Linked DNA regions of Homo sapiens: region 1 is linked to region 2. Evidence: promoter capture Hi-C in 16 types of primary human blood cells and fetal thymus (Javierre and others, 2016). All regions are on one chromosome and are shown on one strand. The core of a region is centred on a gene start or on the middle of the fragment in contact, and the rest is flanking DNA. Distances in the headings are between cores, read along the strand shown. Region 1 overlaps STIL (STIL centriolar assembly protein). Region 2 holds the start of TEX38 (testis expressed 38).

What was found. Contacts are between HindIII fragments. The CHiCAGO score rates a contact against its expected background, and 5 or more counts as called.
Region 1: a contact is called between a fragment that was not itself captured here and the fragment with the promoter of TEX38 in region 2, in 4 of 17 cell types (M1 macrophages, erythroblasts, M0 macrophages and 1 more). The highest score is 6.2, in M1 macrophages.

What each region holds. Positions count from the first base shown.
Region 1 is chr1:47,303,470-47,309,793 of GRCh38, reverse strand. It overlaps STIL (STIL centriolar assembly protein), which reads left to right. Exons shown (of 17, transcript NM_001048166.1): 3 at 4,798-4,905. Among named protein-coding and RNA genes, the nearest start is that of STIL, 7.5 kb to the left of the region's middle. RefSeq lists an enhancer at 2,724-3,289. The HindIII fragment of the contact is 1,571 bases long and covers 3,644-5,214 here.
Region 2 is chr1:46,667,604-46,674,387 of GRCh38, reverse strand. TEX38 (testis expressed 38) reads right to left here and starts at 2,534. Exons shown (of 2, transcript NM_001145474.4): 1 at 2,417-2,534; 2 at 794-1,515. The coding sequence starts at 2,453. The coding sequence ends at 932. It overlaps ATPAF1 (ATP synthase mitochondrial F1 complex assembly factor 1), which reads left to right and starts at 6,024. Exons shown (of 9, transcript NM_001394565.1): 1 at 6,024-6,331. The coding sequence starts at 6,066. EFCAB14-AS1 (EFCAB14 antisense RNA 1) reads right to left here and starts at 352. Exons shown (of 3, transcript NR_038828.1): 1 at 169-352. RefSeq lists an enhancer at 5,575-5,724 and silencers at 6,237-6,407, 5,835-6,454. The HindIII fragment of the contact is 3,767 bases long and covers 1-3,521 here.

The DNA of each region.
Region 1 (6,324 bases), core at 3,180-5,679, 630 kb before region 2:
TTCCTCAGATGTTCCTAAGCCTTTGTCAAGTGAAGTAGGAGCTTGCCACCTGTCTTCCATTTTTCTCAGTCTGTTACTATGGGGACTGGGCAAATCAGCTTGTATTATTTGGCTCTTTGGATCATTTATTGCTCTTTTTTCCCCTAGGGAACGACAGTTAATGCTGACATGTGAATTTTTTTTTCTTCCAAACCAGAATTGCATTCATGGGTCGCCTTTATTCTCTGTAATGTCTTTCTTTGTGCCAGATGTTCTTGATGAAGATAGTGGGAAACATGACCCAAGGAGGCTATCGTATTCCTTTTGCTTTAATTTTGGCCCTTGTGTTCTACCCCCCTGCCATCTCTTATTTGAAAATTTGTCGGTGGGCAAGGTGGCTTATGCCTGTAATCCTAGCACTTTGGGAGGCTGAGGTGGGCAGATCGCTTGAGCTCAGGAGTTCAAAATCAGCCTGGGCAACATGGGGAAACCCCATGTTGACAGAAAAATTTTGTCTTCTATTCTTAGAAGGGTACAGTTGTGTAACAAGTTCAGTGTATTCTGTTTTTAATTAAAAAAATTTAAATTTTTGTGGGTACATGGTGTATGTATTTATGGGGTATATGACATATTTTTATAAGGCATGCAATGTGTAATAATCACATATGGGAAATAGGGTATCCATCCCCTTAAGCATTTATCTTTTGTGTTAGAGACAATCCAACTGTACACTTTTAATTATTATTATTTTTTTTTTTTTTTGGAGACAGAGTCTCACTTTGTCACTTATGCTGGAGGGCAGTGGCGCCATCTCGGCTCACTGCAATCTTTGCTTCCTGGGTTCAAGTGATTCTCGTGTCTCAGCCACTCGAGTAGCTGGGATTACAGGCGTGCGCCACCATGCCCAGCTAACTTGTATTTTTAGTAGAGACGGGGTTTCACCATGTTGGCCAGGCTGGTCTTGAAATCCTGACCTCAAGTGATCTGCCCACCTCAGCCTCCCAAAGTGCTAGGATTATAGGTGTGAGCCACTGTGCCCAGCCTAATTATTTTTAAATGTTATTATTTATTACTTTTAAGTTGTTATTGACTATAGTCACCCTGCTGTGCTATCAAATAATAGGTCTTAATCATTCTTTCTGGTTTTTTTTTTTTAAACCCATTAACTGTGTCTACCTCTCACCCAACCCCTACTACTCTTCCCAGCCTCTGGTAACCATCCTTCTACTCTCTGTGTCCATGAGTTCCATTGTTTTGATTTTTAGATCCCACAAATAAGCGAAAACGTGAAGTTTGTATTTCTGCTCCTGGCTTATTTCACTTAACATGGTGATCTCCAGTTCTAACCATGTTGTTGCAAATGACAGGAATTTATTCTTTTTTTTTTCCATTTTCTTTTTCTTTTTTCTTTTTTTTTGTTTTTTGAGACAGTATCGGGGGACCTGCCCCGATAATCACGTAGGTTCTTTTCTGTTTTCCTAAGCGTCCGCTGCCTTGAGAAATAAAAGGACAGAGTACAAAAGAGAGAAATTTTAAAGCTGGGCTTCCGGGGGAGACATCACACGTTGGTAGGATTCGTGATGCCCCACAAGCCACAAAAACCAGCAAGTTTTTATTAGGGAGTTTCAAAAGGGGAGGGAGTGTGCGAATAGGTGTGGGTGACAGACATCAAGTACTTAACAGGGTAATAGAATATCACAAGGCAAGTGGAGGCAGGGCGAGATCACAGGACCACAGGACTGAGGCGAAATTAAAATTGCTAATGAGGTTTTGGGCACCACTGTCATTGATAACATCTTATCAGGAGACAGGGTTTTCAGATCAACCGGTCTGACTACAATTTATTAGGTGGGAATTTCCTCTTCCTAATAAGCCTGGGAGCGCTATGGGAGACTGGAGTTTATTTCACCTCTGCAATCTCGACCATAAGAGACAGGTACGCCCCGGGGGGGCCAGTTCAGAGACCTACCCCTAGGTGCGCATTTTCTTTCTCAGGGACATTCCATGCTGAGAAAAAGAATTCAGTGATATTTCTCCCATTTGCTTTTGAAAGAAGAGAAATATGGCTCTGTTCTGCCTGGCTCACCGGCGGTCAGAGTTTAAGGTTATCTCTCTTATTCCCTGAACAATTGCTGTTATCCTGTTCTTTTTTCAGGTGCCCACATTTCATATTGCTCAAACACACATGCTGTACAATTTGTGTAGTTAACGCAATTATTACAGGGTCCTGAGACGATATACATCCTTCTCGGCTGACAGGATTAAGAGATTAAAGCAAAGACAGGCATAGGAAATCACAAGGGTATTGATTGGGGAAGTGATAAGTGTCCATGAAATCTTTACAATTTATGTTTAGAGATTGCAGTAAAGACAGGCATAAGAAATTACAAAAGTATTAATTTGGGGAACTAATAAATGTCCATAAAATCTTCACAATCCACGTCCTTCAGTCATGGCTTCGGCCGGTCCCTCCATTTGGGGTCCCTGACTTCCCGCAACAAGACAGAGTCTCACTCTGTCACTCAGGCTGGAGTGCAGTGGTGCGGTCTCAGCTCACTGCAACCTCAACTGATTCAAGCAATTCTCATGCCTCAGCCTCCTGAGTAACTGGGATTACAGGCGTGTGCCACCATGTCCAGCTAATTTTTTGTTTTTTGTTTTTTGAGATGGAGTTTTGCTCTTGTCACCCAAGCTGTAGTGGGGTGGCGTGATCTTGGCTCACTGAAACCTCTTCCCCCTGGGTTCAAGTGATTCTCGTGCCTCAGCCTCTGAACTAGCTGGGACCAGAGGCGCGTGGCACCACACCTGGCTAATTTTGTATTTCTAGTGGAGATGGGGTTTCACCATGTTGGCCAGGCTGGTCTCGAACTGCAGGCCTCAAGTGATCCACCTGCCTTGGCCTCCCAAAGTGCTGACATAGGTGTGAGCCACCAGGCCTGGCCCCATTAGTGGTCTTTTTCTTATTGTGGTTTTCTCGTGTTATACACTCATGTAAAATGAAAAGTTTTTGATGGTACCCTATATGATTTAATATCACAACCTTGCTTTACACTGCCCCTGGCATCTTTGTTGAGGAATTATTTATAATTATGTCCTTTTGACGCTTCAATAATTAAACTTGTGCTGTATTTTGGTATTCCAGAATACCAAATTTGGAAACACTGGAAAATAATTAAGAATTTATTAAGTTTTTTTGCTTTTCATAACTGTTGGGTATTATCTAACAATTATCTGGAAATCAGTTCAGAAAGACAGATTTTAGGCCAGGAGCCATGGCTCATGCCTATAATCCCAGTGCTTTGGGAGGCCAAGGTGGGAAGATTGCTTAAAACCATGAGTTCAAGACCAGCCTGGGAAACATAGCAGGACCCTGTGTCTACAAAAATTACAAAAGTAAATCTCACGTGGTGGTGCACATTTGTGGTCTTAGCTGCTTGAGAGGCTCCCTTGAGCCCAGGAGTTTAAGGCTGCAGTGAGGTATGATTGAGCCCCTGCATTCCAGCTTGGGCAACAGAGCAAGGCCCTGCTCTTTAAAAAAAAAAAAAAAAAAGGAAAGAAAAGAAAGATTTTAGTTTAAATTTAAATGTAAATGTATGATTTATACTCATTTTTCTGTTACTTAAAAGGGATTTTGTAGGATTGTCTTGTTCTTTTTTTAAAAGCTTGTGTATACATAAATTTACATATGCATAGATAAAAAAGGACAAATAAGCCAAATTTTGAGTGCCTATTCTCCTGGTAGTAGAGTTACAAGTGAATTTTCTTTTTTAAAAAATATTTTTTGGGCCGGGCGCGGTGGCTTACGCCTGTAATCCCAGCACTTTGGGAGGCTGAGGCGGGTAGATCATGACGTCAGGAGTTTGAGACCAGCTTGGCCAACATGGTGAAACCCCGTCTCTACTAAAGATACAAAAAATTACCTGCGTGTGGTGGCAGGCGCCTGTAATCCTAGCTACTCGGGAGGCTGAGGTGGGAGGATCACTTGAACCCAGAGGCGGAGGTTGCAGTGAGCTGAGATCACGCCATTGCACTCCAGCCTGGGCAACAGGGTAAGACTCCGTCTGAAAAAAAAAAAAAAAAAAAAAAAAAGGCCAGGCGTGGTGGCTCACGCCTGTAATCCCAGCACTTTGGGAGGCTGAGGCAGGCTGATCATGAGGTCAGCAGATCAGGACCATCCTGATTAACAGTGAAACCCTGTCTCTACTAAAAATACAAAAAATTAGCCAGGCATGGTGGTATGTGCCTGTAGTCCCAGCTACTTGGGAGGCTAAGGCTGGAGAATCGCTTCAACCTGGAAGGCGGAGGTTGCAGTAAGCTGAGATTGCACCACAGTACTCCAGCCTGGGCGACAGAGTGAGAATCCGTCTCAAAAAATAAAAAAGTATTTTTTGGCCAGGCACAGTGGCTAATGCCTGTAATCCTAGCACTTTGGGAGGCCGAGGCAGGTGGATGACTTGAGGTCAGGAGTTCGAGACCAGCTTGCCCACATGGCGAAACCCCGTCTCTACTAAAAATACAAAAAGTAGCCGGGTGTGGTGGTGCACTCCTGTAATCTCAGCTACTCAGGAAGCTCAGGCAGGGGAATTGCTTGAACCCAGGAGGCAGAGGTTGCAGTGAGCTGAGATCACGCCACTGCACTCCAGCCTGGGTGATGGAGTGAGACTTTGTCTCAAAAAAAATATATATATATAAACTCTTTGAAAATTACAAAAGTAGTCTGAAAATACCATCACCTTAAAGATAGTTAGTTGTTTCCTACCAAATGTCTACCAAGTTTGCTATTCCTTGTGCTTTAATTTTACATTGTTTTTTCAAAAGGTTTCCTTCAAGCAGGATGGTACCTTTCCACTTTCCTCCATCAAAATGTGCACTTTGGAACCCAACGCCAACTGGAGATTTCATCTACTTACATCTCAGTTACTACAGGTATAACATGTTTCTTTTTTTCAAATCAAGCCAGTATAAACAAGAGTAATACAAAGATGTATAAGGCAAAGTTGATTACTATGACCAATTATTCATTTTTCTTTACTTTTCTTTTAGAATCTCCCCTCAGGCAAAATTTTCCTTCTGCTTCTTAACATCTGTTCCTTGTACTTTTGAGAGATAATCTTATCTTCCCAGTTTTCTGCAAATTCTGCATATTGTAGGAATTCAAAAGAGGTGAAATATAGTAAAAACTGAAAGTGTTTTTTATTATGTCAGCATGGTGTCTTTGTGGAACGTTGAGAAGCTTGAACCAATTTTTGAGTGGATCAGATTAGAAGGAATATAAAATCTTGTAGTTACATCTAGGACCTTGACAGACAAGAAAGTTTAGGTGTAAAGTAATAGAAAATAGATCTATTGAGGTTTTGTACATAAGAGTTACTTGTTAAAAGTAGTATTCTAAGAAGGATAGATTATGGCGGGGAGAGCCTTGAGTCAGCCTAGCTTCAAGATGCTTTTCTGTAATCACACAGGTGTATATTGTAATGGTTTAAGGTGCTATAACTGGGCTGGGTGCAGTGGCTCACACCTGTAACCCCAGCACTTTGGGAGGTTGAGGCAGGAGGATTGCTTGAAGTCAGGAGTTTGAAACCAGCCTGGGCAACAAAGTGAGACCTTGTCTCAATAAAAAATTAAAATAAAAAGTAAAAAAAAAAACAAAATAAGGAAAAAAAAACGGTGCAATAATTGGAGCAGACTGCCTAGGGAATCAAATCCTGATTCTAGTACTTATTTATGCAACCTCAGTAAAGTAGCCAAGGATCAGTTTCCTTATTTATAAAATGACTATAATAATACCAGTTTCACAGTTCTCTTGTAGGGGTTAAATAAGACTCTGTAAAGCAATTGTCACAGTGCCTGGAATAGAAAGTATTTCATAAATGGCATCTATTATACATTATAAGGACTTAGAGCAATGTAGCAGTATTCAGATCAAGAGGAAAGAATGAAACAAGGTGTTTTGAATAAATAATTTGTAGTATTTGATGATTGACTGAATAGAGGAACTGAAGGAAAGATACAAGAAAGAAAGTATTCGGGTTCAACACTAGTTGGCAGAGAAGGGTGGTACCATTGACAAAAATAGGGAGAGTCTTATGGAAGTTCAACTAAATAATGGTTAGTCCTGTTTTTATTTTTTTTATTGTTGTCTTTCTGTACATTTTGAGTAGTTTCCTTTGTTTTTCAAGTCTGCTTATTTTCTCTTTAGCTGTGCTTAGCTGCCATCTAACCTATTCATTTAAGTTTGGTTGTTTTTTTTGAGAGGAGTTTTGCTGTTGTTGTCCAGGCTGGAGTGCAGTGGCGTGATGTTGGCTCACTGCAACCTCCGCCTCCCATGTACAAGCGATTCTCCTG
Region 2 (6,784 bases), core at 1,285-3,784:
TGTCTACGTATAATTTTAGGCAGTTCACTGACCAGCCCTTCCTCCAAGCCAGTTCATGGACCAACTTAATGACACCCTACATACAATCCGAAGCATTCACCAAGTGTTTTCTAACACGACATATCATTAGGGAAGGGGCACTATGGCGTATGGTGGGAAGATCAGTACCTTTGATGCCAAGCAACTGATGATCAATAACTTTCATACCAGTAACTTTGATGCAAGGCAGATGTAGATTTGAGAACTGGCTCTGCAACTAAGAAAGGTATGGCATATGCCCTTGGAACCTGTCTCTTCATCCATAAGAGGAGGATCATGATATCCATTTGGCAGTGTTCTTGTGAATTATTAGAAATAATGTAAAGAGGCAACCACGTAAGAGCTGCATACATCATAGATAATAACAAAGAATGCATTTCAGCCCATAGTGCAGTGTGGCTCACAGGGCTCGTGATGACTCATTTTGCCTGTGACATAGCGACTGTAAATCAACATAGCTCACGTACCCTCAGCAGCTATCACTCTGGTGGCAGCTGTGCTTCACATCCCACAGAACACCAGTGCCTTGGGGTACCTAGGCCAGGGCCTGGCACACATTTTTGTTTTAAATACTGAACAGAGGGATATTGAGTCCATCCACAAGTACTGGTTCAGTGTGTCTCCCCACAGCCAACCACCAGTGCCAGTTCATATTGGTGAGACTCAGCAACCAACTTGGTTTGCAAAGTGACCCCATCAGACAGGAAGGACATTGCCTTCCTAACAGCAAATGAGAAACGAGGGAGCCTTGGACTTTTTTTTTTTTCTTTTAATGTTTCATAGCATGACATCCAGGTGGGTCCTGACCTCTGTCAATACCACCTTCCTGAGGTTAGTTCCATTTCCTACTCTGCACCTGATTCCTGCAGCTCCCACCTTCAGTGAGAGGAGGCTACAGTTCTGAAGGAAAAGGCTTGGCATTGAAGCTATGGTCTTCCTGGGCCAGATTCAGGAGGGAATGGAAGAGAACATTCCTTTCAGGACAGGTGGCCAAAGGATAGGAGACAGAGTGGTTCAGCAGGGGGGGTAGGTTGCACAAGGGTGGGGCAAAGGGCACCTCCTGAAAGATGGGAAGTGGGAATGGGGATCTGGCCTGGGGCTGCTGTGGAGCCAGCTGCAGTGCAGGTTGCAGGGGAGCAGGGGCTTCCGCCTTGGGGTTGCTGTCTTGGTCAGCATGGCTCCTGCCTTCGGGGATGTCCAAATCCCACAGAACATCTGGATTCTGGACCTCAGTCTCAGTCTTGGTGACAGCAGGGGCAGGGCCCGTGTTGATGGCTGCATTCATGCCGTAGCGCCGTCGCTTGTTAATCCAGTACAACAATGGGCTGTAGGTGAATGTGGCAGCTCTCATCACCTCCACCCACTGCTGGGCATGCTCTTCCCGCCTCAAGTTCTTCCTCCAGTGCAGAAAGATAATGCACCCTCCAGTTATCACAGAACACAGCCCCAGGATTCCAAAGTACAATGAGACCCACACTAAGGCAGCAAGAAAGAAAAAGAGGCATGCTGGCTGATAGCTGTAGCTTGGGGCCTGAGCTGTTTCTCATTCCTCTTTCACTTAACCCATGCATCAATCGCTCCATCCACTTAACTACTCTCACCGTTCCTTCCCTCCCTTATTGACTTGCCTCATCATTCCCTTATTCAGTCAAAGCTAGATTTCCAGGGAGCTTAAGCACCACCTTTAACTCTTTACAGATCACAAAAGCTAGGTCTAGCGGGGGCATGTGCTGCCCAGGCTCAGTCAAGCCTCTGATTCCTAACCCAGGACCCATCCAATCCATCAGACTGAGAAGTTTCACTATGGGCAAGTCCATCAAGAAGCAAAAGTTCACCAGCACTTTGTGAGGCCCAGGTGGGCAGATCACTTGAGGTCAGGACTTCAAGTCCAGCCTGGCCAACATGGTGAAACCCCGTCTCTACTAAAAATTTTAAAATTAGCCAGGTGTGGTGGTGCATGCCTGCAGTCCCAGCTACTTCAGAGGCTGAGGCAGGAGAATCACTTGAATCCAGGAGGTGGAGGTTACAGTGAGCCTAGATTGAGCCACTGCACTCCAGCCGGGGCAACAGAGCAAAACTTCATCTCAAAAAAAAAAAAAAAAGTGAAAGTTCATCAGTTGACAGAGACACCAATGTCCCATCCCATTCCATTCAGCTGTGATAGTCCTGGGCTATTGATAGTATCTTCTCTGGTTGATCAGAGCATGGTCTTTGCCTTAAAATAATTCTTAGTTTTCTAGAGTAGACTATCTCCTAACTGCTTAGCTCTCCTCCAGGCAGCCAGGCACTGTCCCATCCATGCAAAGGGCCTTCCCTGAGTGTTTGTCCCCAAGCCCTAAGGCACAAGTCCAGTGACAGGGACTGGAGGAGCACTTACTCCCAGGGAAGCGCAGGTCCTCCTGTTGGGAATCCATACAGCTGAGCTTTGGTACCTGGCCGATGGCTCTGGGGAGAGGGAACTCACCCACCCATCTGCCCAGCCAGTCAGCCCATCTGCCCAGCCAATCAGAGTCTCCAGAATGCCCAGGCCCTTTGTTCTCTAAAGGAGAGGTCACTGGGTTCTGAGAATTGGGCATTCTAGGGGCAGTGCTTGTGAAGTGGTCCTGGGTTAATGGAAGGAGGGGACTTCATCCAGTGGCATTTTTTGGGTGGAATGTCACTACTACTTCCATCAGAGACTGGTTCACCTATTGAATTGTCTGTACCTACCCCTTATGGTGAACCCACAGAGCAGACCCCAGAAAAGGGCCATTGTCCCTCAGGTACTTACGGATGTTGCTGGTCTTTAGGGAACGGTTGATGGGATACCTGTCCCCAGTGAGGAATGTAACAAGGAACACACAGCATTGGGCAGCCCTGTTCTCAAAAAGTATCTAACCAAGTTGGCAGGAAGAAACCTGCTCAAGGGAACCAAGTGGTCAATACCTCCTTCTTTGGCTCCAACAATCTGTCTTTTATTTAATTACCTTCCTTCAAGTGCTGACAAGTGTTTCCCAGGCCCCAGGCCCTGTGGGGCTTCCCACCATCTGGCCTGCATCTACTTCCAGCCTTACTTCCCTCCTCGTCCTCCACACACTTTTCCCTTTTGCCTAGTCCGTACTCCTGAACAGACCCTGCTCATTCACATCTCTGGAGGTGTGCCCATGCTGCTCCTTCACCCAGGAGTGCCCCTGCCCACTTTTCCACCACTGAACACCTGCTCATCCTTCAAGACTCAGCTCAGCCCCCCTACTCTGTGACAGACTGCCCAGAATCATATCATCGCCAATTTGAAGAAACTTTGAGAGTTGTCTAGTTCATCTCCACCATCTGATCCCACCATCAGGGCCATGCTTGACTCCTGGGGGTAGATTTTTCCCCACACAGCAACTAATCTCCCTGGACTCAAGACTCACTTGAGTCAGGAACTTGCTCACCACCTCCTGAGGCAGCTTGATGCATTTATGGGCAGCTCAGTTAGAAAGCCCTTCCCTAATTAAGCTTAAGTCAGCCTTCCCAGTATGTTGCACCACTGCTTGTAGCTCAGCTTCTTAGCACCATTTTAATGACTCCCCTCTTTATAGTCCTCCAATGTGTGACTTAGGGAACTATTTAGCACAGAATTCTCTCCAGGGTCCACTTACCCTTGTTCTCCTCGTATATCACTGGCCCCTACTTTCCAGTCTCCTTTGCTGGTTTCTCCCTTTTCCCCTGATCTCTAAATGTAGGCATGTCTAGGGCTCAGTTCTTAGTGCTCTATCTACATTCATTCCATCAGTTATCTCACCCAGACCCCTGGCTTTAAATATCACTATACACTGACAGTACGCAACTGTATCTCTCCAGCCTGGAATGCTCCTCAGAACTTTAGACTCATACCCAAATACCTGGTTGACATCCCTCCTTGCCAGTCTGTTAAATTATCCCAAACCAACATGTCCAAAACCAAACTCTGATTATCCATCCTCCAAAGTCTACCCTACCTACAGCCTTCCTCCTCTTCATAAGTAGTATCTCTGTCCTTCGGGTTGTTCAGGCCAAAAACCTGCAAGTCATCCTTGACTCCTTTCATTCTATCACACCCACACTGACTCCATCAGCAAGATCTTTAGGCTTTTATTTCAAAATATAACCAAAATCTGGCCACTTTTTTTTATCACTATCACTTTAGTCCAAGTACCACCATCTCTCACTTGGATTACTGTTCCCTGTAGGGTGACCAACATCCTGGTTTGCCCAGGACTTGGGGTGGGTTCTCAGGACATGGGGCTTTCAATGCTAGAGCCAAGAAAGTCCTAGGCAAACTGGAATAAATTAGTCACCCTTGGGAGAGTTTCCATCCTTGCCTCCACATATCCTAAATCCCACCAGCAGCCAGCATGATCCTTTTAAAAAGTAGATCATGTTACTCCACTGCTTAAAACATATAGTAACTTCCGATCTCATTCGATTTAAAATCAAAGTCCTTAACCAAGGCCTAAGCAATCTAACTAGCCCTCCCTATACCTTCTTGGTCTCATTTCTGCTGCTGTGCCCTCACTCATTCAGACTCAATAACCTCCTCATCAGGGCCTTTGCACTTGCTGTTTCCCCTACCTGGAAGGCTCTTCCCCCAGCATTCCCACATTACCTTCAGGTCTCTGCTCAAGTGTCCCCTTATCTCTATCTCTCTTGGCCTGCTGTTTTTCTGCATACCATGTAGCATCACCTAACATTATATATTTACTGTCTGTTTCACTCCACTAGAATGTAAGCTCAATGAATTAATATAAACAAGGATCTAAGAACTTCAGATAATGATAACTGCTATAAAGAGAATGCAATAGAGTGATGGGATAAAGACTATAAAGAGATGGAGGGGTTGTCATTTAGGTCCCTTGGAGGTGCTTACATGTGAACTGAGCCCTTAGATGATGAGGAGGCAGCCACATGCAGATCCACAGAGAAAACAGCAAGTGTTAGGAGTGTGAGCCAGGTATGGGCTGGCATACTTGAAGGACTTATTCATCTTCCATTACACTGTTCCTCGCACAGGGCAGGGCTCAGGGCTGATCTCCATGAGCATAGGTTGGATTGAGCAGAGTTGAAGGCTCTGCCCCTGTCCCAGGAGGGGCTTCAATCAGACAAAACCCAGACAAGAAGGACCTGATGATGAGTACTGTCCCAGAGAGCCCACTCCAGGACTGGCCCTGTTCTGTGAGCAGGTGGGACACAGAGATGTTAATGTCACTGTCCCTGACCCTAGGAGCTCACACCTGGTTCAGACGGTAAGGAAGATTGTGGCATTTGGGTTGAGAGAATGGAAGGAGAGAGGATTCCAGGGGTCAAAAAGGGCCTGAATAAGGACTCTTCAAGGAGTAATCCTGGTGTTTCTTTGGGAGAGAATAGGTCACTGTGGCTGGAGTTCAAGGAGGATGTCAGGAAGCAGAGGAAAAGGAGGCTTGGGAGGCAGCTGCCATCTTGAAAAGAGCTCAGCTGTCGGGTAGAACTTGAACAAGTCACATAATTACTCTCGGCCTCAGTTTCCTTATTTGTTAGATGAGGATAATACTGCCACACAGAGTATGAAGCCGCTCAGTGTCCTGCACATAGCAACCTCAGTAAAGAGAAGCTTGCTGCTGTGATTATAGTTGATGAAAAGACCTTCGATGCTGAAGGACGGACTACTACATCGAGTGCCTGGCACTACAGCGAGTGCCAGGGGCAAGCACCGCGAGGACATGGAGATCCGCTGGCTTTAGAGAACGGACTTGGCGCGCAGAGGCTGCTGGTCCCAGAGGGAGGAAGGGCGTTGAATTTGGGCAGCCTCCCTGGAGGAGGCGGGCCGTGGCATACACAGGGCGGCGAGAGCGCGCAGTGCCGGGGCCAGAGCGGCGCGCCCCCTCCTCCCCGCCCCGCCTCGCCGCTATCCCGCGCCCGGAACCTTGGGCGCGCGGAACCTCGGTGCCGGAGCGCGGGCGCGGCGCACTCGGAGCGGGATGGAGCGGGCGCGCGGGCCGCGGGCCGAGGCCGACGCGCCTGAGGAGGAGGAGGAGGCGGGGGCGGCCATGGCTGCTGTGGTGGTGGCGGCTGCGGGTGGCGCGGGACCGGCGGTCCTGCAGGTGGCCGGTCTCTACCGGGGCCTGTGCGCGGTGCGCAGCCGCGCCCTGGGCCTGGGGCTCGTGTCACCCGCGCAGCTGCGCGTCTTCCCAGTGCGCCCCGGCTCGGGCCGGCCCGAGGGGGGCGCCGACAGCAGCGGGGTCGGGGCCGAGGCCGAGCTCCAGGCCAACCCTTTCTACGACCGCTACCGCGACAAGATCCAGCTGCTGCGCAGGTGCGGGCCTGGGTTGGCTGGAGGCGGGCAGGAGGCGGGAGGAGGGGCGGCCCGGGCTGCTGGGCCTTAGGACAGCCCTGTGAGGTGGGCACTAGTACTGTCCCAGCTCTTCAGATGATGTAGCCAGGCTCCGCGAGGCTAGGTCACTTGCCCAAGATCACACAGCTAATTGGTGTCAGAGCTGGGAGTCTCTGCAAAGCCCTGGCTCGTTCCACGTTTGTCTGCTTTGGTTCTCCAAACGCTAAGGTGGACTCTTATGACAGCCCTGAGGCAGGCAGCTCAGAGACACCTGTCCTCATTATAGAAATGGGAAAACGCCTTCTAGAGAAGGGACTTGACTTGCTCAAGGTCACATATTAAGATAGCTGAGGCCTGGCTCAGAGCTGGAGTTCCCAGGCTGGTGGTAGCTTAGGGCCTTGACTGCAAGGAAAGGCGACTGGGGATGGGAGGAGG